Linked DNA regions of Homo sapiens: all the other regions are linked to region 6. Evidence: promoter capture Hi-C in 16 types of primary human blood cells and fetal thymus (Javierre and others, 2016). All regions are on one chromosome and are shown on one strand. Each heading gives the region's core, a stretch centred on a gene start or on the middle of the fragment in contact. The rest is flanking DNA. Distances are from core to core; before and after follow the strand shown.

What was found. The method cuts DNA at HindIII sites, captures the fragments that hold promoters and counts their contacts. A CHiCAGO score of 5 or more calls a contact.
Region 1: a contact is called between a fragment that was not itself captured here and the fragment with the promoter of KTN1-AS1 in region 6, in 1 of 17 cell types (neutrophils). The highest score is 5.0, in neutrophils.
Region 2: a fragment that was not itself captured here is called in contact with the fragment with the promoter of KTN1-AS1 in region 6 in 1 of 17 cell types (monocytes); the score reaches 5.1 in monocytes.
Region 3: a fragment that was not itself captured here is called in contact with the fragment with the promoter of KTN1-AS1 in region 6 in 1 of 17 cell types (megakaryocytes); the score reaches 5.5 in megakaryocytes.
Region 4: a fragment that was not itself captured here is called in contact with the fragment with the promoter of KTN1-AS1 in region 6 in 6 of 17 cell types (endothelial precursors, neutrophils, M0 macrophages and 3 more); the score reaches 9.6 in endothelial precursors.
Region 5: a contact is called between a fragment that was not itself captured here and the fragment with the promoter of KTN1-AS1 in region 6, in 1 of 17 cell types (fetal thymus). The highest score is 6.2, in fetal thymus.
Region 7: a fragment that was not itself captured here is called in contact with the fragment with the promoter of KTN1-AS1 in region 6 in 1 of 17 cell types (fetal thymus); the score reaches 6.0 in fetal thymus.

Annotation. Positions count from the first base shown.
Region 1 is chr14:56,328,599-56,332,454 of GRCh38, forward strand. LINC02284 (long intergenic non-protein coding RNA 2284) reads left to right here. Exons shown (of 7, transcript NR_187174.1): 5 at 1,824-1,889. Among named protein-coding and RNA genes, the nearest start is that of LINC02284, 20 kb to the left of the region's middle. The HindIII fragment of the contact is 5,943 bases long and covers 1-3,856 here.
Region 2 is chr14:56,376,246-56,380,341 of GRCh38, forward strand. The region is part of intron 6 of LINC02284 (long intergenic non-protein coding RNA 2284); the gene reads left to right. Among named protein-coding and RNA genes, the nearest start is that of LINC02284, 67 kb to the left of the region's middle. The HindIII fragment of the contact is 1,277 bases long and covers 1,067-2,343 here.
Region 3 is chr14:56,458,935-56,462,585 of GRCh38, forward strand. No RefSeq gene overlaps it. Among named protein-coding and RNA genes, the nearest start is that of TMEM260, 120 kb to the right of the region's middle. The HindIII fragment of the contact is 246 bases long and covers 2,223-2,468 here.
Region 4 is chr14:56,477,380-56,481,063 of GRCh38, forward strand. No RefSeq gene overlaps it. Among named protein-coding and RNA genes, the nearest start is that of TMEM260, 100 kb to the right of the region's middle. The HindIII fragment of the contact is 774 bases long and covers 1,164-1,937 here.
Region 5 is chr14:56,355,718-56,359,256 of GRCh38, forward strand. All of the region lies in intron 6 of LINC02284 (long intergenic non-protein coding RNA 2284), which reads left to right. Among named protein-coding and RNA genes, the nearest start is that of LINC02284, 46 kb to the left of the region's middle. The HindIII fragment of the contact is 3,044 bases long and covers 1-3,042 here.
Region 6 is chr14:55,578,562-55,582,448 of GRCh38, forward strand. It overlaps KTN1-AS1 (KTN1 antisense RNA 1), which reads right to left and starts at 1,531. Exons shown (of 3, transcript NR_027123.1): 1 at 1,375-1,531; 2 at 45-176. KTN1 (kinectin 1) reads left to right here and starts at 1,646. Exons shown (of 44, transcript NM_001079521.2): 1 at 1,646-1,793. RefSeq lists enhancers at 871-990, 1,001-1,090 and silencers at 1,531-1,790, 1,851-2,490, 2,670-2,964. The HindIII fragment of the contact is 5,026 bases long and covers 1-3,887 here.
Region 7 is chr14:56,409,700-56,413,467 of GRCh38, forward strand. All of the region lies in intron 6 of LINC02284 (long intergenic non-protein coding RNA 2284), which reads left to right. Among named protein-coding and RNA genes, the nearest start is that of LINC02284, 100 kb to the left of the region's middle. The HindIII fragment of the contact is 1,674 bases long and covers 1,363-3,036 here.

The sequences.
Region 1 (3,856 bases), core at 1,278-3,777, 750 kb after region 6:
GTAATTACCTAGACAAAACTAGGGTTCTGTTAGAAAGGAGGGGATGGAGGTTGAATTCCCAGTCAACCTTGTCCTGCATTGGCATTGACTTCATTTTTTAGATGAGGGATCAGGGGCTCAAAAATGTCTGTCTAGTTGTTGTAAAGCTGATATTCAAACCTAGATCAGTCTATGAAACAAGTACATGTCCACTACACTCTTCCTTTTCTCGTATTGATAACCTGTAACATGGTATATTAGTCTGTTCTGCATTGCTATAAAGAAATACCTGAGATTGGGTAATTTATTTTAAAAAGAGGTTTAATTGGCTCATGGTTCAGCAGGCTGTACAGGAAGCATGATACTGGCATCGGCTCAGCTTCTGGGGAGGCCTTAGGAAACTTAAAATCATGACGAAGGTGAAGGGGGAGGCAGCATGTCACATAGCTGGAGCAGCAAGAGAGAGCAGTGGGGAGGTGCCACACACTTTTAAACTACCAGATCTCACAAGAATTCACTCACCGTCACAAGGACGGCACCAAGGGGGATGGTGCTAAACCATTCATGAGAAACCCACCCCCGAGATCCAGTCACCTTCCACCATGTCCCACCTCCAACACTGGGGATTACAATTCAACGTGAGATTTGGGCAGGGACACAGATCCAAACTATATCACATGGGAATCAGTTTTACGTCTGGATTTGTGTGTTCCAGTGGATTGTCACTAAGTAGAAATCTATGCTCCTGGATCCCTCACAGAAATCAATTGGAATTCTGTGTAAACAAAAATACTTCCTAATGAATTCTAGGGAGAACCATTTATGTGGGTTTACGTATTCAATTTGTTATCACTGCTCCTAATGCTAGGAGGTGTGCGTAAAAGGAAGAAGGATTCCAATATTACATTAAGGGAAGCCGTAAAAGTCCCTTAAAGGGACGCGAGATACCAACGGTTTGAATTGCTTAGTCTCATTTTTGAAACAGGCCCCCTTTTTAAATGTCTGGGCCTTGAAGCTGGAGATTCCGCTTCTGCTTCTCTGGGCTGGTGTTTCACAGGGCACTGTTGTAGAGATGTATTTCAGAGAATGACATTCAGATATTGGGAAGTAAATGATGAATGAGCAGACATTATTTGGGCAATGCAGTTTTCAGACAGAGGCTGCAAGAGAATATATTTTCGGGTGCTTCTGTTGGTATTTAACTTGCAGACTGTATATACAGTAAATCAGGAGGGCCAATAATACAGTACATAGGGAGATGTTTTATGCAGGGTTCTGACAATGTACAACAGCTGCCCTAGCAGAAGGGGTATGGATTTATGGACACGCTTGCAGGTGATGACAGCCAATATGTAGCAAGGTTCTCTATCGATACCTGGAAGTATTTATTTTTTTGGTTCATCCTGAGGTAAAGGAAAAATGAAAGGCAACTATGGATCTTTTGACACCAGATATGCAAGCTGCGTAGCAATTGCATAGCTTTTAAAGGATGGAGAAAGAGCTTAATATAACACACTCGCTCGGAGTCCTTTTTAAGACTCAGTTTCTTGGTGTCAGTACCATCCAGAAAAGGTCTTTTTTTTTTTTTTTTTTGCATCCCTGATGGTTCTCTCATTTTATCTGTGGGGTGGGGCCAACTTATCCCATAGGCACAGCAGGCGCAGCGGCTGAGCCCACACCACTTTCAGGGGGCCACAGAAAATGTTTCAATTTTAGCTTCTTTTAAAATCAGAAGAAAAATGAATATAATAATAACAAATATATAGTGATTGGTCCAGCATAGATTATACTTGTCTTTACACCAATGAAGTCATAAAATATTTTAATTATTTTTTTAAATGCAGGAAGAAGCCCAGAAAAACCAAAGCGCCTAAGGCCCATGAAAGCTGTAATGACTCCTTACCATGAAGGTGAGCCAGGCTTAAAATCTCGCTTTTTCCCATATCCCCAGGCAGGCACCAGAGACTGCCCGTGGCATTGGGCATTTGATGAGGGCGAGCTGTTTCTGGTCTCGAACTCTCTCTGAAGAAACTCAGCTAGGGATTGGGGCCTGTCCATGAACCAGGCTCCCTCAGCCCATCCAGAAGCCACTCCCACAACCTTGACTCGATTTTCTCCCTACCTCACCCCAGAGCTGAGACACTTTCATGACTCCTCTGAGCATCTCTCCAGCTTAGCAGATTCCTAGGGTTGCCGTAACAAATACCACAAACTGGGTGGCTCACACAACTGAAAGCTATTCTCTCCCAGTTCTGGAGGCCAGAAATTCAACTCAAGGCGTCAACAGGGTTGGCTCCTTCTGAGGGCCATGAGGAGGCATCTGTCCCATGTCCTCTCCTAGCTTCTGGTGGCTTGCTGGCAATCAGATATCCCTTGGCTTGTAGATGCATCATCCAGATATTTCATCTTCACATGAAGGCATTCTGTGAGCATGTCTGTGTCCATTTGCCCTTTCTTTTTTTCTTTTTTTGAGACCGAGTCTTGCTCTGTCGTCCAGGCTGGAGTGCAGTGGAGTGATCTCCACCCACTGCAAGCTCCGCTTCCCAGGTTCACACCATTCTCCTGCCTCAGTCTCCCAATGGCTGGGATTACAGGCACCCACCCGGCTAATTTTTTGTATTTTTAGTAGAGACGGGGTTTCACCGTGTTAGCCAGGATTGTCTTGATCTCCTGACCTTGTGATCCGCCCATCTCGGCCTCCCCAAGTGCTGGGATTACAAGCATGAGCCACCGTGCCCGGCCCATTTGCCCTTTTTTATAAGGACACAAGTCATATTGAATTAAAGGCCACTCCACTATGACCTCGTCTTAACCAATTACATCTGCCCTGTTCCCAAATAAGGTCACATTCTGATGTATGGGGAGATAGGGTTGCAACATCTGAATCTTTGGGGGCCAGGGAGGTGTGGGGCAATAGAACTCCTAAAATCAGTTCACGAAGATGCTGTGATCTCAGTGTGGGTTTGGAGTGTGAGCCCCTTCTGCCTGATGTTCCAAAGCAACTCAGCGTGAGTGAGGCCTCTGCACCTCTCTCAGTTCACTCTTCTCCATCCCAAGGGAGGTGTGTGCCCCCTCACTTCCAGGAGTGTAATCAGGGATTCTCGTGCCCAGTGCCAGGTAGGGGGGAAGGGAAAAGAGACAGGGGTCTCCATCACCTCCTGTATAACCTCAACGCCTACTCAGCAGGAAGTGGGTAAAGAGTGGACAGAGGAGTTGAGGTGAAACAGAAGGTCGCCAGATGTGGGAACAGAGGAGGAGGTAGCTGACAGGTAGGACCAGAACCAGCCAGCTTTATCTGATTGTCTCGATGTCAATTTCACACTACTCTTTTCATGAGCAGGGTGGAGGATCCAACCCAGGCCAGGGTCAGGAGCATAGATGCTGAGTCTGAAGAGCGGGTGTGGGTGTCGGGAGGCAGGGGGGTTTGTAGGGCTGGCATGGAGCCCAGGACACATGTGGGAAGCACTGAACAGTTCAGCACAGCAGCTGTAGGCATTAGCCAGTTTAGTTAATCAGCAGTGCAAGCCCCCAAGGCTCAAGTCCTCTTTGTACAAAGATGACAGTAAACAGGAGTGGGCGCAGTGGGAAAAGAATAGACTTGAGAGTTAACCAGACCTAAATTTAAATTCTAATTCTGAGTCCACTTGGCTTTAGGCAAATCACCTTATCTTTCTGGCCCCAAGTTCCCACATCTTTTAAATATAAAATGGGAATAATAATAATAATAATACTTACCTTATAAGGTTGTTGTGAGGGCTAGATGTACTTATATGAAAGAGAGAGTCCTGGCAGGTGGTAGGTGATGAATAAATGGTAGCCAGTAATGGTGGTGAGAGAATCTTGTACTAACTAAATAGTATCACTCACACTATGTGCT
Region 2 (4,096 bases), core at 455-2,954, 800 kb after region 6:
GTCCTTGACTAGCAGGCCTGTGTACTGAATGAAGCACTTGGAATCAGCTGAAAGGGCATCAGAGAGTCACTTCTGAGTTCTCAGTAGTCACTCCAGTCACGTATCTTTCCTTCTTCTCACTTTCCTATCTGTTTGCCCCACCCCTGGCCCCTCTAATTTCCCATTGTCCTTATTCAATTGCACTTCACTAAATATTTGTGAATGTTTATACTTCCTAAACAAGACATATTCATGTAGCTGAACTTGAGGATATTTTATTCATATCCATCAGCTGCAGAGAAGGGAGAAGAGAACCAAGGGGAAAGAAAGAAGTTTGCTCCTCAACTGTGAGACTGTGTTCCAAACAGCCAGAGAGGCCTAGACTCAAATCCTTGTTCTGCCATTTGATATCTGAGTGCCTCTGGAAACCTACTGAACATCTTTTAGCCTTAGTTGCCTTATTTGCAAACCAGGCATAAAAATACCTACATTTCAGGGTTGTTGTCAAGGTTAGAGACAGTGTATAAGTTCCCAGCTCACGGTAGATGTTGAGAAGATAGTTGCTATTAATATTTTACATAGCGTTTTATATATATAATTTTACATCTTGCTTTTCTTGCTTAGCACTATAATATGAGCATTTTGCCACATTCTGAAAAACTCTTTGTAAACCTCATTTTAAAATGCTAGAGAAGCCACGTGCAGTGGCACACGGCTGTAGTTCCAGCTGCACGGGAGGATCACATAAGCCTAGGGGTTCAAGTCCAGCCTGGGCAACATAGTGAAACCCTGTCTCTAAAAAAATATATTAAAAATAACATACCAAAGAGTAGTTAATCAAACAGATGTACTGTAATTATGTAACTTATTATTAGATCCTTAAGTCCTTCCTTCCTTCTTCTTTTCCTTCCTTTCCTTCCTTCCTTCCTTTTCTTTCCCTCCCTCTATCTCTTCCTTCTTTCTTTGTCTTTACCTCCATTCTTCCCTCTTTCTTCCTGCCTTCTTTCTTTCCCCCTCTCTTTCTCCTTCCTTCCTTCCTTCCTTCTTTCCCTTATAAAGGTGCTACAATGAACTCCTCTAAGCACAAAGCTTTATCTACATTTAGGTTCACCTTCCATGGGCTTTATTTCTGGAAGTCAAATTACTTTGTCAATGTGTATGGATGCTTTTAAGTATCCTAGTATATAGTGCCAGATTACTTTCCAGAATGTCTACCAGCTGCATGTGGCCCATTTTACTATATCCTTGGCAGCCAGAGCAGACACCACAGGTTACCTACCCAAGAGTCACTATTTCCCCCTTTTCCCTGTTACTAGTGGCTTAATTTCTTCAGATGTCCATGCTTCCTCTGAGAATAAATCCTTATCAGCCTAAGCCAAATTTGCTAATCTCATTTCTCTCACTAGAGATTGGTTTAGAGATGGGCACGTGACCGAGCTGGGGCTAATGAGATGAACTGTGACGTTTACTAGGTAAATGTTTTTCATTCTTAAAAATAGACCAGAACAGTCTCCTTCTGTGTGTAGAACATTGTTATGTATGCACATACACCTTGAACTATGACAGCCTGAGAATAAAACCAGTGGAGGATAAGAGACTGATAATGCTGTCGAACCCTAAACCAACTCAGGAGCTGTCCTTCCTTGGGACTTCTTTGTATGTGAAATAATATATTATACATACTGTTTTAGAAGTTTGCTTTGGGTGTTGATATTGCAGCTGAAGCATTCTAACTGGAACACTAGCGTTGTAATTATTAAAGATCTTTCTCAAATTAATTCAAACACACACACACACACACACACCTTAATTTTGATTCAACCTGCTGTTCTTTAATTACGATGAGAGCACGTGCTTATTCATATCTTTGTTAATAATTTGCATTGTCTTTTCATAAACTATCTGAAAAGATTTTTGAAAGATCAGTGGTCCACAGAAGAGGATCATTTGCAGACTAGACTGAGCAGATGAATGTGGCATTGAGGGCACAGTTAAGGTCACGTTGGAACTAAGCCTCCAGATGTCCAAAAACTCCTGTTGCTTGTCATGCAAATACTCCTCCAACTTGCAAAATGTCTTCAGCCCAGGGAAATCAGCTTCTGTCCAAAATATGGTAATGATGGAAGTCAGTCTTTCAGGACTCTTTGCTTATAAAAAGCTAGACCCTGGATGGCATTCTCTCAACAAGGAGACAAGAGGTCTGGCGGGCAAAAGAAAAGTAAGACTGAAAATGAAGGAAGGGTTGAGCAAGAACAAATACCTGCTGAGGACCTGCTGCCCAGAACACATAATGCGTTTCTCTCTGCTTTTTCCTGGCATTCCCAGTTTCAAGTCACTGTGGTCCTCCCATCCCTTGCCCAGTTAAGCTTATCTATGTTTCCGTTCTAGCATAAGAATGTTTTCATTAGATTTTCCAAATAGAGAAATGTTTTTCAATTACTCTGGTTTTGAAATAAACTTTGAACACAGGCATTGCAGCAAAAGTCTCTGATTCATTTCCTAGAAAAGGGAACATATGAAAATGAATCACCCTCCCTTTTTATTAGCACATCAGAGAGGCACAGAGTACTGAGTCATCAGTATTAAGGTAATGTATAATGGTCAGATAATTAGAAATTTAAATGGCTTGGGTTTAATAGGAGGTTTTCAATATTATGAATAGTCAGTGAATTCAAGCCCGACTGAGAAATGCCCCAGATGAAGTCTTGCCGATGGGTGTATGTATAATACATGGGTAAGGTTGTTTTATAAGAGACTTATTGACTTTATGGTCAAAGCTCTAGTACCTTCCATCAAAGTCTTGTTCTAAACCATTGTAAATTAACAGATCAATAGTTAATGGTACTGCCAGCCAAGTTTAAAGCCAAATAACTCAGATTCCAAGACAACTCGATTTTACTCATTTGTGATTCAGAGGCACTTTGGTAGACAAATTGATGTTTGTTTAGTCAATTTGTATATCCAGGGTCTTCAGCCTGAACCTACTTTCATTAAGCCCACAAAGACCATCTGCAGAGTGGGGCTGACTAATCTGAAGCTTGCTTCATTTTTGTTTGTGTCAAGACCTTTTATTGTAGAGATCCTTCACTAGGGGCATCTTGTATGATTAAATCTGATCGTCTGTGGTAAGATCTTTAAGATCCTGACTAAATAAAAAGTGGGCTTCATTACAAAGTTGGGAGTGAGAGAACATGAGAATGTGTGTGAGAGAAAAAAAGTACATTTTTAAAAGAAATATGAAACAGTTCGAGGGTGGGAGAGTGTGTGTTGTGAGGTGTACATGCCATGTGGCCTGTGGATGTATTGGTGGGTGAGGAGTGTTTATGCCGCTTTCCATTGCCTGTTAGCTGTGCCCACCACTTGGGGATTTAAAAAATAGTATTTCTCTAGCTTTAATGTGAACTCTGTTGGGAGGAAAGAACATAGAGGAAAAAAAATAGATCATGTGTGTTTCTGGCTGCCTGCTCTTTACATGCAAAATTATAAAATAAATAGGATCCCAAAATAGTACTGTCTCTGCTCCCAAAGAGATCTTCCACTCCGCTCTGAATTATAAAATCCTCTGTTAAAAAAGGACTAGATAATGAATTAGGCTCACGTGGGAAAAATATAGGAGCAGGAGGCAAGACTAATTTAATGGAGGGCTCAGGCTCAGCAGAGCTTGTTGATGTTTGTTGGAGGAGAGTAATATCTCAGTTCTCAGTCCTGGTGGGAATGGTGCTGTTCTGGGGATGCAGACCCCAAACTGTGGTCATGAGCTTTTCTTTCCTTCCCAAAAAAGCTCTGGGTGAACAATACCAAAGAGCCTTCCCATTTAGTCACAAAACCACTTAATTGTTTAAGACAGATAATATTTCTTCAACCCTGACATGCCCAGCTGTCTGGTAGAAGAGAGCTATCAAAGCTTTGGCTAAGAAGGCCTGAGGTTTCATCATCTCCTCCTCTCCCTTCCAGCCCCAAGCCACATGATTTTTCATTTGGCATCCAATCACCAAAACCAGTACAGCACTTGTATCAGACCCAGATTCCTGGGTCGAGATTCTAATCCTGAATCAGAATCTCTGCAAGTAGAGCCCAGGAATGAGCCTTTTTGACTTGGGCCCCAGTAATTCTTATG
Region 3 (3,651 bases), core at 1,096-3,595, 880 kb after region 6:
CATGGATAGGAACAATCAATACCGTGAAAATGGCCATACTGCCCAAGGTTATTTATAGATTCAATGCCATCCCCATCAAGCTACCAATGACTTTCTTCACAGAATTGGAAAAAACTACTTTAAAGTTTATGTGGAACCGAAAAAGAGCCCACATTGCGAAGACAATCCTAAGCCAAAAGAACAAAGCTGGAGGCATCACGCTCTCTGACTTCAAACTATACTACAAGGCTACAGTAACCAAAACAGCATGGTACTGGTACCAAAACAGAGATAAAGACCAATGAAACAGAACAGAGCCCTCATAAATAATACCACACATCTACAACCATCTGATCTTTGACAAACCTGACAAAAACAAATGGGGAAAGGATTTCCTATTTAATAAATGGTGCTGGGAAAACTGGCTAGCCATATGTGGAAAGCTGAAAATGGATCCCTTCCTTACACCTTATACAAAAATTAATTCAAGATGGATTAAAAACTTAAATGTTAGACCTAAAACCATAAAAACCCTAGAAGAAAACCTAGACAATACCATTCAGGCCATAGGCATGGGCAAGGACTTCATGACTAAAACACCAAAAGCAATGGCAACAAAAGCCAAAATTGACAAATGGGATCTAATTAAACTAAAGAGCTTCTGCACAGCAAAAGAAACTACCATCAGGGTGAACAGACAACCTACAGAATGGGAGAAAATTTTTATAATCTACCCATCTGACAAAGGGCTAATATCCAGAATCTACAAAGAACTTAAACAAATTTACAAGAAAAAATCAACCCCATCAAAAAGTGGGCAAAGGATATGAACAGACACTTCTCAAAAGACATTTATGCAGCCAACAAAGACGTCAAAAAATGCTCCTCATCACTGGCCATCAGAGAAATGCAAATCAAAACCACAGTGAGATACCATCTCACACCAGTTAGAATGGCAATCATTAAATAAAGTCAGGAAACAACACGTGCTGGAGAGGATGTGAAGAAATAGGAACACTTTTACACTGTTGGTGGGACTGTAAACTAGTTCAACCATTGTGGAAGACAGTGTAGAATTCCTCAAGGATCTAGAACTAGAAATAATATTTGACCCAGTCATCCCATTACTGGGTATATACCCAAAGGAGTATAAATCATGCTGCTGTAAAGACACATGCACATGTATGTTAATTGCAGCACTATTCACAATAGCGAAGACTTGGAACCAATCCAAATGTCCGTCAATGATAGACTAGATTAAGAAAATGTGGCACATATACACCATGGAATACTGTGCAGCCATAAAAAAGGATGAGTTCATGTCCTTTGTAGGGACATGGATGAAGCTGGAAACCATCATTCTCAGCAAACTATTGCAAGGACAGAAAACCAAACACCGCATGTTCTCACTCATAGGTGGGAACTGAACAATGAGAATACTTGGACATAGGGTGGGGTACATCACACACCGGGGCCTGTTGTGGGGTGGGGGCAGGGGGGAGGGATAGCATTAGGAGATATACCTAATGTAAATGATGAATTAATGGGTGCAGCACCCCAACATGGCACAGGTATACATATGTAACAAAGCTACACGTTGTGCACATGTACCCTAGAACTTAAAGTATAATTTTTAAAAAATGCACACAAAATAAATAGGTACTGGGATTATCCCCATTCAACTAAATACATATATACACCAGGAATAAAATAATACTTTATTTATATTATATATTTATATATAATAAAATATTCTATTAATTTATATAAAACAAATTATATATAATTTTATTTATATTATACATAATAATATATGTTTATATTGTATATATGCGTGCACTTCACAATATGTGGTAGAGCATGACCACATACTGTCTTTATCCTCACCTACCCCCTCTCATAGCTGTAATTATATTTGGAATTATGGAGGAAAGGGAGATTGGTAGTGGTAAATCTTTATCATAGGAAGTCAACAGATACATAAAAAATGCATAAATCCTGAAATCACAGTAGAAGCATATTATCTAGAAATATAGAGATACCAGAAGAAATAGCTAAAAGATTTGAAAATTGTGGCCTCTGAGAAGGTGATGAGGATTGGAGCTAGAAATTACTGGGGTTTTTTAAATTTATTTTTTAATTTACAAATATATATATTTATTGTGTACAACAATGTTGTTTTGAGATATTGTATACATTGTGAAATGACTAAATTGAGCTTGAAATTACTGTGTTTTATCATAAGCTTTGACACATTTAACAGTGCATGTGTATCTTTGATTTTTAAAAATTGTCAATTTTTTTTAAAATGTTACAAACACAAACATGCAACTAAAAATATCCTTTCAAAAAATTGTTTAGATTGGAAGAATTTCTTTTCCTGATATAATGATGCTCTTGGTTACTCTTTGTAGTCATTTTAATAAGAAAAAATAATAAGCAGCAAATCTCAACAAAAAGAAAGGCTTTGTTTAGGTAAATTACAAGTAAGCTTTCCCTCGTGGAAATCTTTGCCTAATTGGGCTGCAGCTGCTGCTAATTTATGCTTTTCACTGTATCTCAGTTTGGTCTTGCATGTGTATTTGTGTTTTAAATATCACACAATTTGAGGCTTTCATTTGATGGCATGAGTTTGGATACAACTGGAGAGGCTTATGAGAGTCTTATCCTAAGAAGAATTTACTATTTTGTTACAGTTTTTGCTGTACACCTGGGAGCTACTGAATGTAATTGGAGTACAGCTAAGAGAAACTAGGTTGGGGGTCACTGTAATCACATTTGATTTTATTTTCTCATTATATTGTTCTGGTTCATTCATTCCCCTCTCCCGCATTAGTATCTAAGGCACTGTGTCATGAAGGCAGAGCTGGGATGAAAGCAGCTCTGATTGACTGGTTAGTATGTACCCTGGTTCATTGAACACAGAACTCAGTGCTTGAACCTCTCTCTAAAAGAGGCGGCATTCTGGGCACAAAGTGGAGAGGCAGTTAGCTGTTTTAGTTTGAAAAATGGAGAATACCATCTGGGCATATTTTTCTTGTGCCTAGGAGTATTTCTGCTAGGTCTGCTGGACACCAGTTGCATTTCATTATCCTCTAACAAGCGGCATCAGTCATGGTCCCGTCTCTCCATGGCTCGCAGGAAGGAGCAATGAACAGAACATACTGTTGTTCGTCTTTTTCAGTCTAGGTACAAGGGGCAGATTTCATTTCATTATTGAATTGCAAGTCATACTCAGCTGAGATGAATCACTTGGTGAAGATTATTACTGCTTTTTTTCCCATTCATATTTTACAGAGCCAATAGCTAACTTAAAATAAAAAAGTAATCGGAGTCCAACTGCCAGCTGTTTTATAAGGCAAAACTGGGGATTTTGAGTTTGAGGTACATTAAATCATATCACAAGATACTATTAAGTTGTTCTTTCTACAAGGCTCAAAAATAAAGTATTGAAAGTAATTTTGTTTAAAAAAAAAAAAAAGCAGTGTTGAACTTTGAAAACATTAAGCTAAGTGAAATAAGCCAGACACCACAAGACAAATATTGTACGATTGTAGGAGGTACCTGTAGTACACAAATTCATAGTGGCAGAAAGAAAAATAGTGGACAGGGACTGAGGGAAGGGGAAATAAAGAATTATTGTTTAATGGGTTCAGAGTTTTTGTTTAGGAT
Region 4 (3,684 bases), core at 301-2,800, 900 kb after region 6:
AAAATACTGATGTTGAGGTCCCACCCCCTAGAGATCCTGATGGAATTTCTTGAGTTTGGCCTAAACTTTGGGATCTTTAACACTCCCTGGATAATTTTAATACGCAGCCAAGATTGAGAACCACTCTGTAAACAGGAGACTTTAATTGGATTTGGGAATATGACTTATTAATGCAAAAATTAAACTAGAGATATGAATTGTTTACAGACTTTTATCATGTGTTTAAAATATTTTAAGTGGTTCTGTTTACATTAAATTTATATCATTTTGATAGTTTTAGACAACTTTGTATTGGATTCATTGAGTCCCTGTCAATATTATAATTCATTGTTTCAGTTATAGGCACTATTAGCAAACAGAAAAATAAAAGTTATAAGTCTACATATTGCTTAAACGTCTATGCATGCAATCCTTCCTTGTGGGGCAACCTTATGATGAATTATTATGGTTACAGACAACCTGGAGTGATTGTTTAGTGTTTCATTACTTTTTTATTTTAAAATGATCTCATATAGTCGCGTTTTGTTTTTTTATCATTGGATAAATATAACTGGGTGACTAGGTGTGGATCTTTGTATAGCAAAGTGACAATTTAACTTGTAATGATAGAAATAGGATTCTAGAAAATCTGTTAAGAAGTCTGCTGGTCAAACATTATCTGAATTCAAAAGTGACTGAACCATGGAGCCAATAAACTATCCTCATGTTGGCAATACCGTGTCCTGTATCTTCAACCGTCTTTATGACTTTGGTTTAATGACTATTAAGGCATGACCACAAACCAAAGAGGAAAAAAATAACGCTGAACTCTAGTCCTAACCCAATGCAAACACATAGATCTATAACTACTCCCCCCACCCACCCATGTATCTACTCGAAAGGAAAACTCAAAAAACTATGAAAACTGTGCCTATTTGAAACCCTTTATTGGTTGTCGCTTTGTTTCATGGTGGCAGATGGGTCAAGTGGTCAACTTAAGATGCACTTTAAGATTACATTCTTCAAAATAAGCAGAAGCCAAAAAAATTTTTTTAACCTGGTGGTTTAGTAAAAACAGAGTTCACTTTATCCTTTTATTTATTCATTCATCCAAGTAGCTGCTGTGTGATAAACAAGTATGCATATCCCTCAGAGGTAGCTAAGAGAAAACCTCCAAGCCAAGAAGCTTAGTCAGGAAAGCCAGTGTTCTATCACATCTGGCCTCAAAACATTTAAAATGTCTTCATTATAAAATTGAGTATACATTTTTAAAAATCTTTAATTTTATTTATTTATTTATTTGAGGCAAGTTCTTGTTCTGTTACCCAGGCTGGAGTGTAGTGGTGTGATCATAGTTCACTTCAGCTTTGACCTCCTGGGCTCAAGCAATCCTCCTGCCTTGGCCTCCCAAGTAGCTGGGAGTACAGGCATGCACCACCATGCCTGGCTAATTTGTTATTTTTTGTAGCAATGGAGGGGGGTCTTGCCATGTTGCCTAGGCTAGACTTGAACTTCTGGCCCCAAGTCATCCTTCTTCTTTGGCCTCCCAAAGTGCTGGGATTATAGGTGTAAGTCACAATGCCTGGCCTAAAAATCTTTAAATATTTTCCACTGGCTTATTTTTACATTCGTAAGTGATATTTTCACCATAAGTCATACAGTTTCTGGGCCTCAGTTCCTCACTTGTGAAGTAATCAATCAGAGCACAAAGGCTAAGCTGCCATCAAGAGACTTAAAATCACAGTGACTTCAATGGGTAGGATGAGAGAGAGCTTAATTTCCCTTCCATGTCCCAGGCTGATCTGGCATTCTGGGATAGTTGGGCTGCTCTGTTACAGAAGGTCATCTATTGACCTGGGATGGCTAGTAGCTCTGTTATTCTCAGTGTGTGACTTCTATCTCTGAGCCCAAGGTATCTACTGTAGCTGTTGCTGCTTCCCAGCCATCAGAAAAAGGAAAGCTTGTGAAAAGCTGCTACTTTGCTGAGGAACTGACTGGAAGTTGAATGTGTCTCTTGTGCTCATATCTCATTGATTCAAATTTAATAGCATGGCGATTCTTAGCTGTAAAGGAGCTAGGGAAATGCACTGTCTTGTTGTGTGGTGTGCTCAGATAAACCTTGGAGAGTTCTATTACTACAGGGCAGAAGGGGAGAATGAATAGTGGGAGATGTTTACTAATCTCTGCCATTTGAAGGGTTGTGACTACATGATTTTTAGTATTGCATTCAGCAGTTAAATCCTGCAAATTCATGATTTTGCATGATTTTGACCAGTCTGCTCTTTAATTTTAAACCCAAAGAGTGTGTGTGTGCATGTGTGTGTGTGTGTGTGTGTGTGTGTGTGTGTGTGTGTGTTGGGCAACAGATGGAGAGTAGGGCAAACAGATGCACTATATTTCTTAATCGTCAATTAACCCAGTGCTTCTCAAACATTAATGTTCGTATAAATCACATGGAGAACGTGTTAAAATGTAGATTCTGATTCAATAAGTCTGGAGTGTGCCATGAGGTTCTGCATTTCTTACAAGCTCCTCTGATGAAGCTGATGTCGATTCTGCTGGTCCGCAGTTAACATTTAGCAAGGAGCTAACCCATCCTGATGAGAAGGCCAGTGCTAGGTGAGGCCTTTTTGGAGAAATAGACAATATAGTAAAATCTCTACTCTCTCACACTGTGCCTTTGATGAAAGTAGACAAGGGATCATCTGGGTCAGCAAAAAGCCATCATACTTTTAATTTAAAAAATGGCAACCCAAATGTTAATTTCCCACGTATTGTGAAACTTGGGAAAGATGGTGTACAATGGGCTTGTGATACTTTCTGATGCTAACTCATGTAAATTCTCAACACATGATCTACCATCTAAAAGTAAAAGTAGATCATGGAATGTTTACATGGCATTTGTTTGGACTTTGGAAGCTTTTGCCTCCATTCCTGTATGGTTTTTTTTTTTTTTTTTTTTTTTTTTGCTAATTGTTTGATTTAAAAGTGAAATCTACCATCACATCCACATAAAGAGTTAATCTCTGTTGGACATCCAAGTAAATATGACAAGCAAAAGGCCATTTAGAGTCAGGAAAGTATTTCCTTCCCTCAAAGACTTTCCTACATATTTCAACTCAACTGGACATTATTAATATCAGTAGACACATATTGAACCATACTTACCTGCCACTTATTCATTTTATAGGATAAGACAATATTTTTCTTGATATAAATTGTTACTTGTCTAATTTAGGAAGTGTTTTCACACTTTGTGTGTGATGAGACATAACACATCGAAAGAGAAAATCGTGAAGATCTTTCTGACATCTTACCATATGACATCTTCTGTCCATTTCTGGACTACAGCATCCTGTCCATTCCCTGGACTTCACACTTGAAAAGGAGCACAGTGAATTTTGAAGCAATTAGCTATTACATTGGAGGAGTCCTGATAGAGTCATTGCCTTTTGGCAAATGACTGGAGTTCAATTTTCCCATTTAAAAATAATGGAGGTATATTCTGACATGTCAATTTCCCAAGCTCTTTGGGGTAGGTCTTCCTGACCCCTTCCCCCAGAGAGTGAATAGCCCTGTGTCTAATCAACAGTTTAGGAGCATTGTCTCATGGTGAAGAGGTCAGATTTGGGGAAAGAACAAAAAAGAGAGTCGTATCAATTCTTATAATGAATATAAAAACATAGGTTCCCCTCCAATTACCAT
Region 5 (3,539 bases), core at 271-2,770, 780 kb after region 6:
CTTATCTTAACAATGAATATCTTAGACTTAAGGATCTGGGACTACGATATAGAGCAATCATTATAATAATAATAGCTAATGTTTAACAACTTGGCCATTTACAAAGCACTTTCAGCTTTGTGTTTCTTTTGGTTGGTACAGTCTTGATTTTTAAAAATATTTATAACAGGTAACTCTTCCTTTTTAAATGCCATTTTTTATTGAATACTGGCTTATGTATCCTGTGGCAGAATCTCACAATCTCTATTTGTCTGAGTCCACACAATGTCATTTAACATATTCCTCTATCCCCCATAAGTTTGTAAACTAATATTTGCATCTGAAGACTTGATTAGATTCAGATTTAAGTTTTTAAAAGGTTACCTCATGGCAGGGCTATGAAATTTCCATTGAATCCCTTTAGAAGGCTCATAATATCTGGCTGTCTTTCCATTAATGCCTTTAAGGTGGATTAGTCAAATCAGGTTGTCAAGTTGATCCATCCTTTATAAAATTCCCCATCACAATTTTACCTAATGCTTTGAGCAGTCACTGATCATTGCCTAGAATAGACCCCTTGTTTTACCGGGTGTTCCAAAGTGTGAATTTTCTAATTCCACTATTCTTTATGCATTTATTAGCTAGAATTCCATAAGAAGAACTTACCCTTGTCAACTAGTTAGACATCCTAAAATACATTCAATACAGAAAAGACAGGATAAATGTCTATCCCATGCTTTTAACCACTGTGCTATCCTGGAAAGATAATGCTTTCTCACAAGCATGATCTGATAGGGTGGGGCTGGCATCAAAAGGGTCTAGCTAGTGAAGGTTCTCATCCTTAGGTCTCAGGAGACTATGCAGATTGAAGCAGGATTTCTGTTGGGAGATGGAAAGAGGAGATCAGGGCAAGCTACAGGGAGAGGAGTCTGGCAAAGTTTCTGCCCCAGCCCATGAGGCTGCCACAGACACAGAACTGGAGTGTGATGGGGAAATAGGACAGAGGCCCTGGAATATGGAACAGGCACACTGGGTGAGGTTAAAAGCGGGAGGAGTTAAGAACATCACTGGAAATGAAAGGGTCTAGGGTCTCCACCCAAGCAAGAGGAAGCTGAGCCAAAGTGTAGCTGGGCTCCTTAAAGGGGGCGGGGAATGAATACTAGACAATGTGGGACTGAGCCCTGGAGGGAGTGTTCTGAAAAGTGTTCGTGAAGGGCTGGGTTTGTATGACTGAAGAATCGTGCTGTACCACTGGGTCCGGAGCTGCTATGCCTTAGCTGGTTTGGCACCAGCCACCTCCTCATGAACCCCAACTGGAAACTCCACTTCCATGACCGAACAAAAAGGACCAGATTTCCAAAGGGACACAGCTAGAGGAAATGGAGCCAATACTAACTTTATATGGCCAATGCATTCATCACTGGTTCAAACCGGTACCCAGTCAGTGAATCCGCCACCCTGATTTTGCCCATGTATGACCCTACTCCCAGCGCAATCACATAAATGCCCCCAAAACGTTGAGTTGGAGTATTTCTGGTTCTAGAGCTGTGTTATCTAGGCCAGAACAGCTAAGAGATGTAAATGCAGACTCTCCAGGGCCTCTGCCCATCCTCTCAGCACCTGACTCCTCTCACTTGGGGCTCCAGAGACCCATCCCTGCTATTATATTCAGGAATTGACTGTAAAAACCAAACCACTCTGACCGATTAAAATTTCTTGTCTTCCTGCTGCATTACTTACAAGAGAACCAAGAACTATTTTTAGATTTAAAAAACAGCAGTTTGCTGGTGCTTGCCATCCCATTTGTAACAGATTTCCAGAGATTAACACTTGCTAGGTTTTTGGCCACGTTTAATCACAAAAGTAATTCTCCATTCCATCAATACGCTCAGCTCGAGGGATAAAAATAGCACTGCAATCTGGTTGGGTGCCTCTCAGCCGTGGGGCTCTGCTTCCCCAGTTGCTGTTTTAATGTTGTTATGGAATTGCTGACCCGCTTTAAGGATATGTGTGTGCAAGGCAGCACATGAGGGTGGCCCGTATCTGATGTGCTGTTAGGCTCAGTGAGGCCCTCCGCATGCTAGAAAAGCGGTCTCTCCACCGAGCAAATGAAGAGTGTAATTGTGTCTGATTATCTGGCCAGATTTTATAAGTGAGAAACTATATAGTACAATTGTAGCTACTTGAGAGGCTGAGGCAGGAGAATCGCTTGAACCCGTGAGGCAGAGGTTGTGGTGAGCCAAGATCACGCCACTGTACTCCAGCGTGGGTGACAGAGCAAGACTCGGTCTCAAAAAAAAAAATTACTTTAGATAAGAAGTATTAATACTTCAGTAGGTGAAAATTACTCCATGACAGCCATCCTGGCTGTGGCTCCTCTTTTCCTGTAGGGTGTCCACTAACCAACCGCTAAAGAAGGGAAGAAACTCCAGTAGGAATTGCATGTCAGCTTCTGCCTTGATTTGCTTTTGTTTCTCTGTATAACTCCAGTTGTGTAGATCTGCCAATATGGAGCTCTTGTGGCTCACAGGAAATAAATGTCACTAAATGCCACTACAATCAGTTTACATTGGTCATCCTGTAAAGTTTTCTTTCTGGTCTCTAGAAATTACTGATATTCTTGGATCTCCACATACCTGTGGTGGATTTTCAAGGCGTGAAGAAGGTACCCCCAGCTGCCTCCAGAGAGAAGGCATGGGGCTTCACCTCTCTGTTTGGAGAGCTTTCAATCCTCTGTGCTGCTTCTGCAGTATGTTAAATGATGTCTCATTCATTGCTCATCATGTGTTATTCTGTGGGTGAACGTCTTGGTGGCAGAACTTCTGAATCTATCAGACACAGTCTTCCTTTCTCTGATAACAGCCACCCCAAGAAGACATACAGGTCCCCTATGCTCACAACTAAGGTAAAAAATAACACACACAGAAGCATTCTGGCCACTCCAAATGTAAGTAAATTTGAAAACCCTGGAAGAGTTATTGACTTTCCTCCTGACAGAGTCCTCCATAGCGCTTCCTGCCTCCTTGTCCTTCCAGGCCCTTTTTTCTGCCATATTCTTCATCAAGCTTAATAACTTAGGAAACACCAATCCCTCTTCTTGGGACCCTTTTCTTCTTGGGAAATGGATTTTCTTAACTGATCAATTATATGATGTCTTACATTGATGGACATGATTTTTCATAACATCATGTATTTTAGAATTAGGGAGGAAAAAACAAAGAATATCTAGTCCAGCATTTATCCAAAGTATAATCTGAAACACACTGAGCAGAGAGATGTTATAGAAAAAGCGTCCCACAGTCAAGCAAGTCTGGAGAACATTAACCGAAATTCCCAAGTCACATTGGCTAAATTTCAAAGGCTTCTCTCAGACCCCCTTGCGGTAACAGGCTAGTCTAAATATGTTAAACCCATTGTTTTCAAATTTTTACTTAGGATAACTTTTCTAGATAATGTTTATTACGTTTCTATAGAACATAATTCAGAAATGTCAATCCTATCTATTTTCTCCATTTTACAAATGAGAAAACGGGCTCGGAGATTCAAATAACTAAGATTAG
Region 6 (3,887 bases), core at 281-2,780:
TAATCAAGAGCCCTTAAACTCCATTACATAAATGATACACTTACCCTTTGTATTAAGGGACTAACGGCTTCGCTTTTCAACAAAGCTGGATCTTCTGGCACACGCTCAGAAGATAGCCAGTACTTCAGAGACAGATTGCTTTGAGGGCACTGGAACCGCTGAGGGGCAGAGTAATCCTAATGAGAAAGAAAAAAGAGGACGCCTCTGGAGTTAAAATAAGACAATGCATCTGTGGAGAACACGGTGACTGAAGACTGGCAGAATTCTCAATATCTCAGGCCACTATACACTGCGCAGTTTTCATTTGTATTTTGGAGGTGCTCTAGAAAACTTAGAAATGATTAGAATAAAAAGTATGGATACTTTTAACCAGCCCATGTACAGGAAATTCTGTTGGTGTAGAAACGGTTCTGCTGTTCATTCCTTAACTGCTTCTGTTCCCACTTTGTCAGATGTAGGGCGAGGTGGTGGTGGTGAGTCCTAATTTTTTCTATCTCTATCCACAGTCTGGAATCGTTAGGATTATTTTAAGCCTTCATAACATTTGCGGACAGCTTGGAGTGTTTTGTACATGTAGTGGGGCAGTGCCTGGCCTCCTGTGAGAGATTGATCATCGGTAAACAATCCACACGAAACTCACTTGCCAGTGGACGGGGAGGATCGCTGCCATCCTTTCAGCAAAGAGCAAACGAATAAGGAGAGATCCGGGCCCATCCCTCCTCGCGCAGCAGTTTCTAGATTTTTACCCCGGCTTCATAAATGGCTACCAGCTGGCAGTCACAACACTTTCATAATGTTTGCACACAACTCATTTGGGTCGCTTTCTTTTCTTTCCTTTTTTTTTTTTTTTTTTTGAGAGAAACGGAGAGTCTTACTCTCTCGCCCAGGCTGGAGTGCAGTGGCGAGATCTCGGCTCACTGCAACCTCCGCCTCCTAGATTCCTGCGATTCTCCTGTCTCAGCTTCCCAAGTAGCTGGGGCTACAGGCGTGCGCCACTATGCCCAGCTAATTTTTTGTACTTTTTTTGGCAGAGACGGGTTTTACTATATGTTGGCCAGGCTGGTCTCGAACTCCTGACCTCAGGTGATCCGCCTGCCTTGGCCTCCCAAAGTACTGGGGTTACAGGCGTGAACCACCGCGCCCGACCATTATTTGGGTCGCTTTCTAATTTCTTTCTCCGTTTGTAGCTAGCGTTGCCCGAAGGAGATTTCAGAGAGATCCCCTGGAGAAAGGGACGGGGGATGTCGTTTTCCAGTAATTTCTGGGGGAAATCTGGGATAGTCAGGGGGTAAATCTAGTGCCGTTTGCTGAAGTTAAAAGGCGTGGGGAGCCAGGTGGTGCCCTGGAGGGAGGGCCGCGCGAGACGAGACCAACCTTCGGGACAGGGGAGAGCGGGGCTACTGAACGCAGGGGATTCCGCTGAGCCTCCAGCCCCTGAGCGTCCACCTTCGGCCCAGCTGGGGGACGCGGTCTCGGGAAGAAAGCCCGGAATCCCGAGCCGGCCAGCCGCGAGCAGCGAGTACCGGAGCGCGTGGGCAGGCGCGCGGAGGCAGAGGCGGGCCGGCGGCTGTCCCTTTAAGGGGCCGGTCTCCCGGCGCCGCCGGCCCAGACGCCAGGACGTGCCGGGTCCGCCCCGCCCCGCCCCGAAGCCGCCCGTTTCCTGCCGAGCGGCGCGACGGCACCTGAGCGACTGCGGCGGCGGCGGCGGCGGCGGCGGCGCCTCGGAGCGGGCGGCCCGGGCTGTAGTGCCGGCGCCGCCGCGTCTTCCCGGTCTCCTTTCCCGGCCGCACAGGGTGAGGGAGAGCAGGCCGCACCGGGACGGGCGCCGGCGGCGGGGAGCGCGGGGGGAGGCGGCGCCGGCCGCGGGGTCCTGGGGCAGGCGGGAGGGCCGCGCCGGGCGGGGGGGCGCGGCCGCGGGGCCCGGACGCCGCCCGCTGGGTAGGCCTCGGGCATCCGGTTGCCGCCGCGGGGCTCTTGTTGGGGCCGGGACGCCGCAGGGGGCGGGCTCGGAGGGACCTCCTCGGCCTCGCGGGGCCGCTCTGGGCCCGACCCCGGCTCTGTCGCGGCACCCGGGGCGCGGCCGAGGGACACCCCCCACCCTCCCCAAGGACGACTCTCCCGAAGGCGAGGTCGACCCGAGCGGGCCCTGGGGTGACCGAGGCACCTATTTTTAGCCAAGCCTGAGGGCCCCCGGGAGGGAAGGCGGATTACCGCCTCCTCGGCCGGTGGACGGAGGCAGCGCGTCTCCGGCGGCGTCCCCGGGCCGGAGCTGGGCCACACTTACGCCATGCTGGAGTTCCAGTCCTCGCCGCTGCCTCCGGCGGTCTGGGCGCTCGCCCCCTTCCCCGGCGCCCCTCCCGCTGCCCTTTGCGAGTCCCCAGGTCAGGGCGGGAGGCGGTTGGGCACGGAAAGCAGCATGAGGGGGGACTTTGGAAAAATCCATGGACCACTCTCGACACCGGCGAAGTTATCCCTTCCTGTCCCCGAGGGGTGTGTCCTAGCGATTCGGCCTGACCCCTTCAGTTTCCAAAAGTGAGATTTTTGGCCTTGGGGACCTCGCCGGAAAACTACGCGGGAAGTCTAGAGAAGTCGTCTGGCTCTCAGCCATACGTCTGGTGTGGGATGTGCAGCCCCGCATGCTGGCGGTGAAGGCGCTGGGTGCACTAGATGTGGGCAGCCCCGGACGCGGGCAGCGGCGTCCCAGCCGGCCCCAGTTGCACCTTGACTAGGTTAGGTTGAAAGTAAGCTGTTCAGTGTTGGCCCTTCTTTCCTGTGGGAGGAAGGAGGAATCTAAATTCAGAACTGTGTTGGCAAACGGATTCCTTAGCCGCTATTTAAGTTAGTAGTGCTTAAAGAGCTACGGTTGAAGTTAACTGTTAAGGTGTGTGTGTGTGTGTGAGTGTGTGTGTGTGATGACTTTGTGGAAAGCCTTGAGTAAAGAGCTACGGTTGAAGTTAACTGTTAAGGTGTGTGTGTGTGTGATGACTTTGTGGAAAGCCTTGAGAAATGTAGACACTCATGGCCAGCCCAGCTAAAGATAAGCATCTTCGGTGAACTAAAGGTTCTGAATTGTATAGGAGTTGACTTAAAGTTAGAATTTTTGCTAAATTAGGTTGCATTTGTTTTCCTTAGCTTACCTAGCAGGCTAATGGCAACAGTGTCTCCAGTTTGGTCCGAAGCAATTGCTGGTGAGACTTGGGATAATGATCCCAAGCTGGTGAGACTTGGGATAATGATCCCAAGAATAACACTAAATTACTCTTGAGTATTTTGGGTAGACATGCCTTGCAGTAGACTTTCATATTTGATGTGCTGCCTGATAAAAAAGGCTCTTTTTTTTTTTCCTTTTTCCTTTTTTTTTAGTTTAAGGATCTAACCTGAAATAGCTGGGTCTGTTCATGAGTTTCCCTCCCACCCCAACATTGAGTTTCAAATGTCTCTTCTAATTTTGTAGCCTTCATCAGACATAACAATACCTTATCAAGTGAGCTTAGAGAATAAGGTGTTCTACTTGATTTACTTGAGGCTGATAATGAATTTGAAAATATAACAAGATCTATTGAAAAATTTTCTTAATACTTGAAAATTATAAAGAATATCAAGTATTTAACTCTTAATGATTCAGCGTCAGCATTATGAAGAGACATTTACGATTTTGTTTCCAATTTAGATCTTTCTGTATTCTTTTAATACCAGTAGTCTCTTCTGTTTGATGTTGTGTTTGTCCCTAAAAATGCCTCACTTCAGTCTCCCTTCTAGTTTATAGGCTTTAATCTGCTTTTGGTAGGGAGATCGTTTTAATAATTATATTTTTAATATCAGTCAATATGGCTTTTTAAAAGAGCCTAAGACGTGAAAACCTTTTTGAGACTTCTAAAGAACCCATA
Region 7 (3,768 bases), core at 950-3,449, 830 kb after region 6:
ATGCAATTTACCTATATAACAAATCTATACATGTACCCCTGAAACTAATAGTTAAAAAAAACTTTTGTAGTTTTAGTATTTCCATTTTTGTCTTTGATCTATTTTGAGTTAGTTTTTATATATGGCATGATGAAAGGGACCAACTTCTTTCTTTTGCCTGTGGCTATCCAGTTGTTCTAGCGCCATTTGTTGAAAAGATTGTTCGTCCCCTCATTGAATTGCTCTGACACTTCGGTCACAATTCAATTGGCCATTAATTAACAGCTTCTTTGTGCACTTTCAATTCTATTTCAATGATCTATAAGTCTATCTTCATGCCAGTACCATACTGTCTTAATTATTGGATCTTTGTCATAGGTTTCAAAATTGGGAAGTATGAATCCTCCTATTTTTTTTTTCAAGATTGTTTTGGCTCCAGAACTGTGGGAAATAAATTTCTGTTGCTTAAAATCTGCCCAATTTGTGGTATTGTGTTATAGCAACCAAAATGGACTAAGGCAAGCAGCCTTCCATAAGTTTTGATATGTTGTGGTTTTCTTTTTTTCATCTCAAAGTATTATTTCCTTTCCCTTGTGATTCCTTCTTTAACTCATTGGTTATTTAGAAGTGTGTCTTTTAATTTTCACGTTTGTGAATTCCTGAAATTTCTTTCCATTACTGATTTCTAATTTCATTCCATTGTGTCATAGAAGATTCTATGATTTTCATCTCTTTAACATTATTGAGACTTCTTTCTATAGCCTAACGTGTGTTCTATTTTGGGGAATGCTGAGTGTTTGCTTGATGCAACGTGTGTTCTGTTGTTTGGTGGAGTGTGCTATAGATTTCTGTTATGTTTAGCTGTTTTATAGTGTTGTTCAAGTCTTCCATTACCTTGTTGATCTTCTGCCTTGTCAGCCTATCCCTTATTAAAAGTGGGATATTGAAATTTACAACTATTACTGCTGAATCTAATTCTTCCTCAATTCTATTAATCATTCATGTATTTTGGGCCTCTGTTATTAGGGACATACATGTTTGTAATTGTTATGTTTTCCTGATGGAATGGTCATTCTGTGATTATAAAATGTTCTTTTTATCTCTAGTAACAATGGTCTTAAAGTCGATTTTTCTGTTAATATTATAGCCACTCCAGCTCTTTTTAGGTTACTGTTTGCATAGCAGATCTTCTTCCTTCCTTTCACTTATTTGTTTTTGAATCTTGAGTGTCTTTAGACTTAAGCTCCAAACCCATTCTTCTTCCTTCAGTAACTGCTAGGCTGCTGTTTTTACAGTTACCATGGCTGTAAGGCTGTTCACTTTTGAGACTACTATGAAACTGTGGAGAAGGGAATGGGGATAGGGCAAGCTAGAATGTCACAAAGCTTGCTGTTTTTACCAATAGTCAGCTGCTTTTCTTGAAGAAATGCACCTCAGAGTGTTGTATACCTTTGGCTAATTTCCACAATTCTGAAAAAAATTGATTTTGACTATTTTTGCCAGGATGTTTATTGCTTCTTATGGAAAAGTCTATTTTTGGAGGTCATTACTCTACCATTCCAGAAATGTTTCCCTAGAATCTGAATTCCCACAAGATCCTCAGATAGTTGTAGGCACATAAAAGTTTGAGAAACCTTGGTTTATAGGATATCACCTGTCCCTAAATTTTCTGGATATCTTCATTTGAAGTTATCAGGTGACCAAGGAATCTTCCAATTGGTTTGGATTCTAACTGTATATAGGTAATATCTAATATGAAAAGTTTATATTGTCAGATCCTACAATGATTAAAAAAAAAAACAGCCTCTGTCTACCTTTGTGCTTATTTCTGGAAATGTTTGTATGAGCCTTGATCATTTTATTTGATTGTCACTCATTAATTAACATAAAAGTTTCCACTTGGTATAATTTTTTGGCATCTTCTCACCAAACATGGGTGTTGCTGGCTATTCTAAATGAACTCAGAATACCCTATCTCCTGACCCAAGGGTAGCCTGTTTTCTGTGACAAAGTAAACAAAATAGTTTCTTCCTAGCTTTTGTTTATTTGTTTGTTTCCTGAAAGAGCCATTGTGTTTCAAGGAGAAGAAGAAGAAGAACGGAACAGTTTGCTTCCTTGGAGTGCAACTGTCCCCGGGCTGGTTAGGAGGTGTAATGTGGAGCAAAGGCCGTGCGCTGAGAGGAAATATGGCCTGGTTTCCCTCTGCCTCATCCTGGGTTCTCCTCTCACCATTTCTACTCATCTTCTTACACATCTTTCTTTTTCCTTCTTTCTTCCTATTTCTTCCCCATTTGTCTTATTCAGTAAGAACTCATTTATTGGTCAGTTCACAGGATTTTCTGCTTTTCAGAGAAATTTTGGAGCAAAACTTGATTTCCTTTTCTGATCTGTGACCCTATGTCCTTTCTGGCCTTGTCTGCCTCTCTTAGCCTGAACCTTTCCCTTTTCTCTTTCCTTATTGTCCCAACATTTTTAAGTAAAAAAATTATGTTGAGAGCACATCTCTTCCTCTTGGACATGGATGTAGAATTTGCCAAATTAACCACTCATGTCCATCCTTAATGTCCTACAACCAGGCCACTCTGCCATTAGAGAGAAGCAACTTTTTTTTCAGTATAGAAGAAAAGGAGGAGTTATGCTTCAAAGGAGAAAAATACTTCACCACCTCAATTGCTAATTTTGCTGAAGTCTTCAAAAATAACAAAATAAAATGTAAATCAATAGCTGCATGAAGAGGAACAGGCACTAGAACCGAGCTGTCTTGGACAAGAAGACGGGTGGGTACTGCTCAGGCTGAAATGCATTGGCTTGGATTTAACATATAGATGAAGCACAGCTCGGTGCCTTTAGCTGGTAAGAATCAAATCGTGAGGCTAAACACTAAATTAGCTGTGTGCCTGTACCTCACAGCAGAGCCAAAATGAGGCACTGTTTTTTTATCCCTGCACCTTCCGATGCCTGCCAAAAAGAATTCAAGCAAGGAAAAATATGCCTCCTGTTGTTTGGGGGAGTTACAAGATACATTTAAAAATTGATTTATGGTTTAATCGCTTTTGAAGCTTCATTATTCCAAGTATTAGCGTGAAAGACCATCTGATCCAGCAGACTTATTTGTTAATGCACCGACAGCAGCAACAGATGTGCTGTTTTTCATCTACAACCCGATCTGCTGGCTGATTCATCTGCTTCCGTTTTCATTTTCCTGTCATTGATTTATTAATGATGTCTTACTTATCTGTGGTTCTTTTATGGGGTGGGCTTCCTCTGGCATGGTCTCAAGAGAGATGTTTTTGCACCTTCCCCAGGCATCAAAAACCCAGCCCCCTTCTCCGGTGTTCTTTATCACCACTCCAGAGATTAGAGACTTTAATCATTTAGTAACTGAAATAACCTCCGTGGCTTGCAGAGTTTATGGCCAATTTGTCTTCATTGCACCGAATTCAACTGCTTTTCTTTGCTAAGGAATGGGCCTTGCTTATTATGCTCCTTCTTTGCACCAGAGGGAATCAGTGTGTTGTCTACAGACCCAATGCAGATAGTGGGTGGCTATGAGTGGCTCAGGACCATGAAAGTATGGCTCAGAGAACACATGTATGTATACCATAGGGCTATTAGCATGTTGAGTTGCTTAGAGTTTGGCTGTGGCTTTCAGCTCCAAGTAGCAAAGGAAGGGTAGACAGGAGGGTTGAAATTCTGGGACCATTTGCAGGACCATCACTGGGATTGTCTACTCCAAATGCCACATGGACCCCTTTTGTTGTCTATGTTAAAAAGGAAAAAAAAAGACCT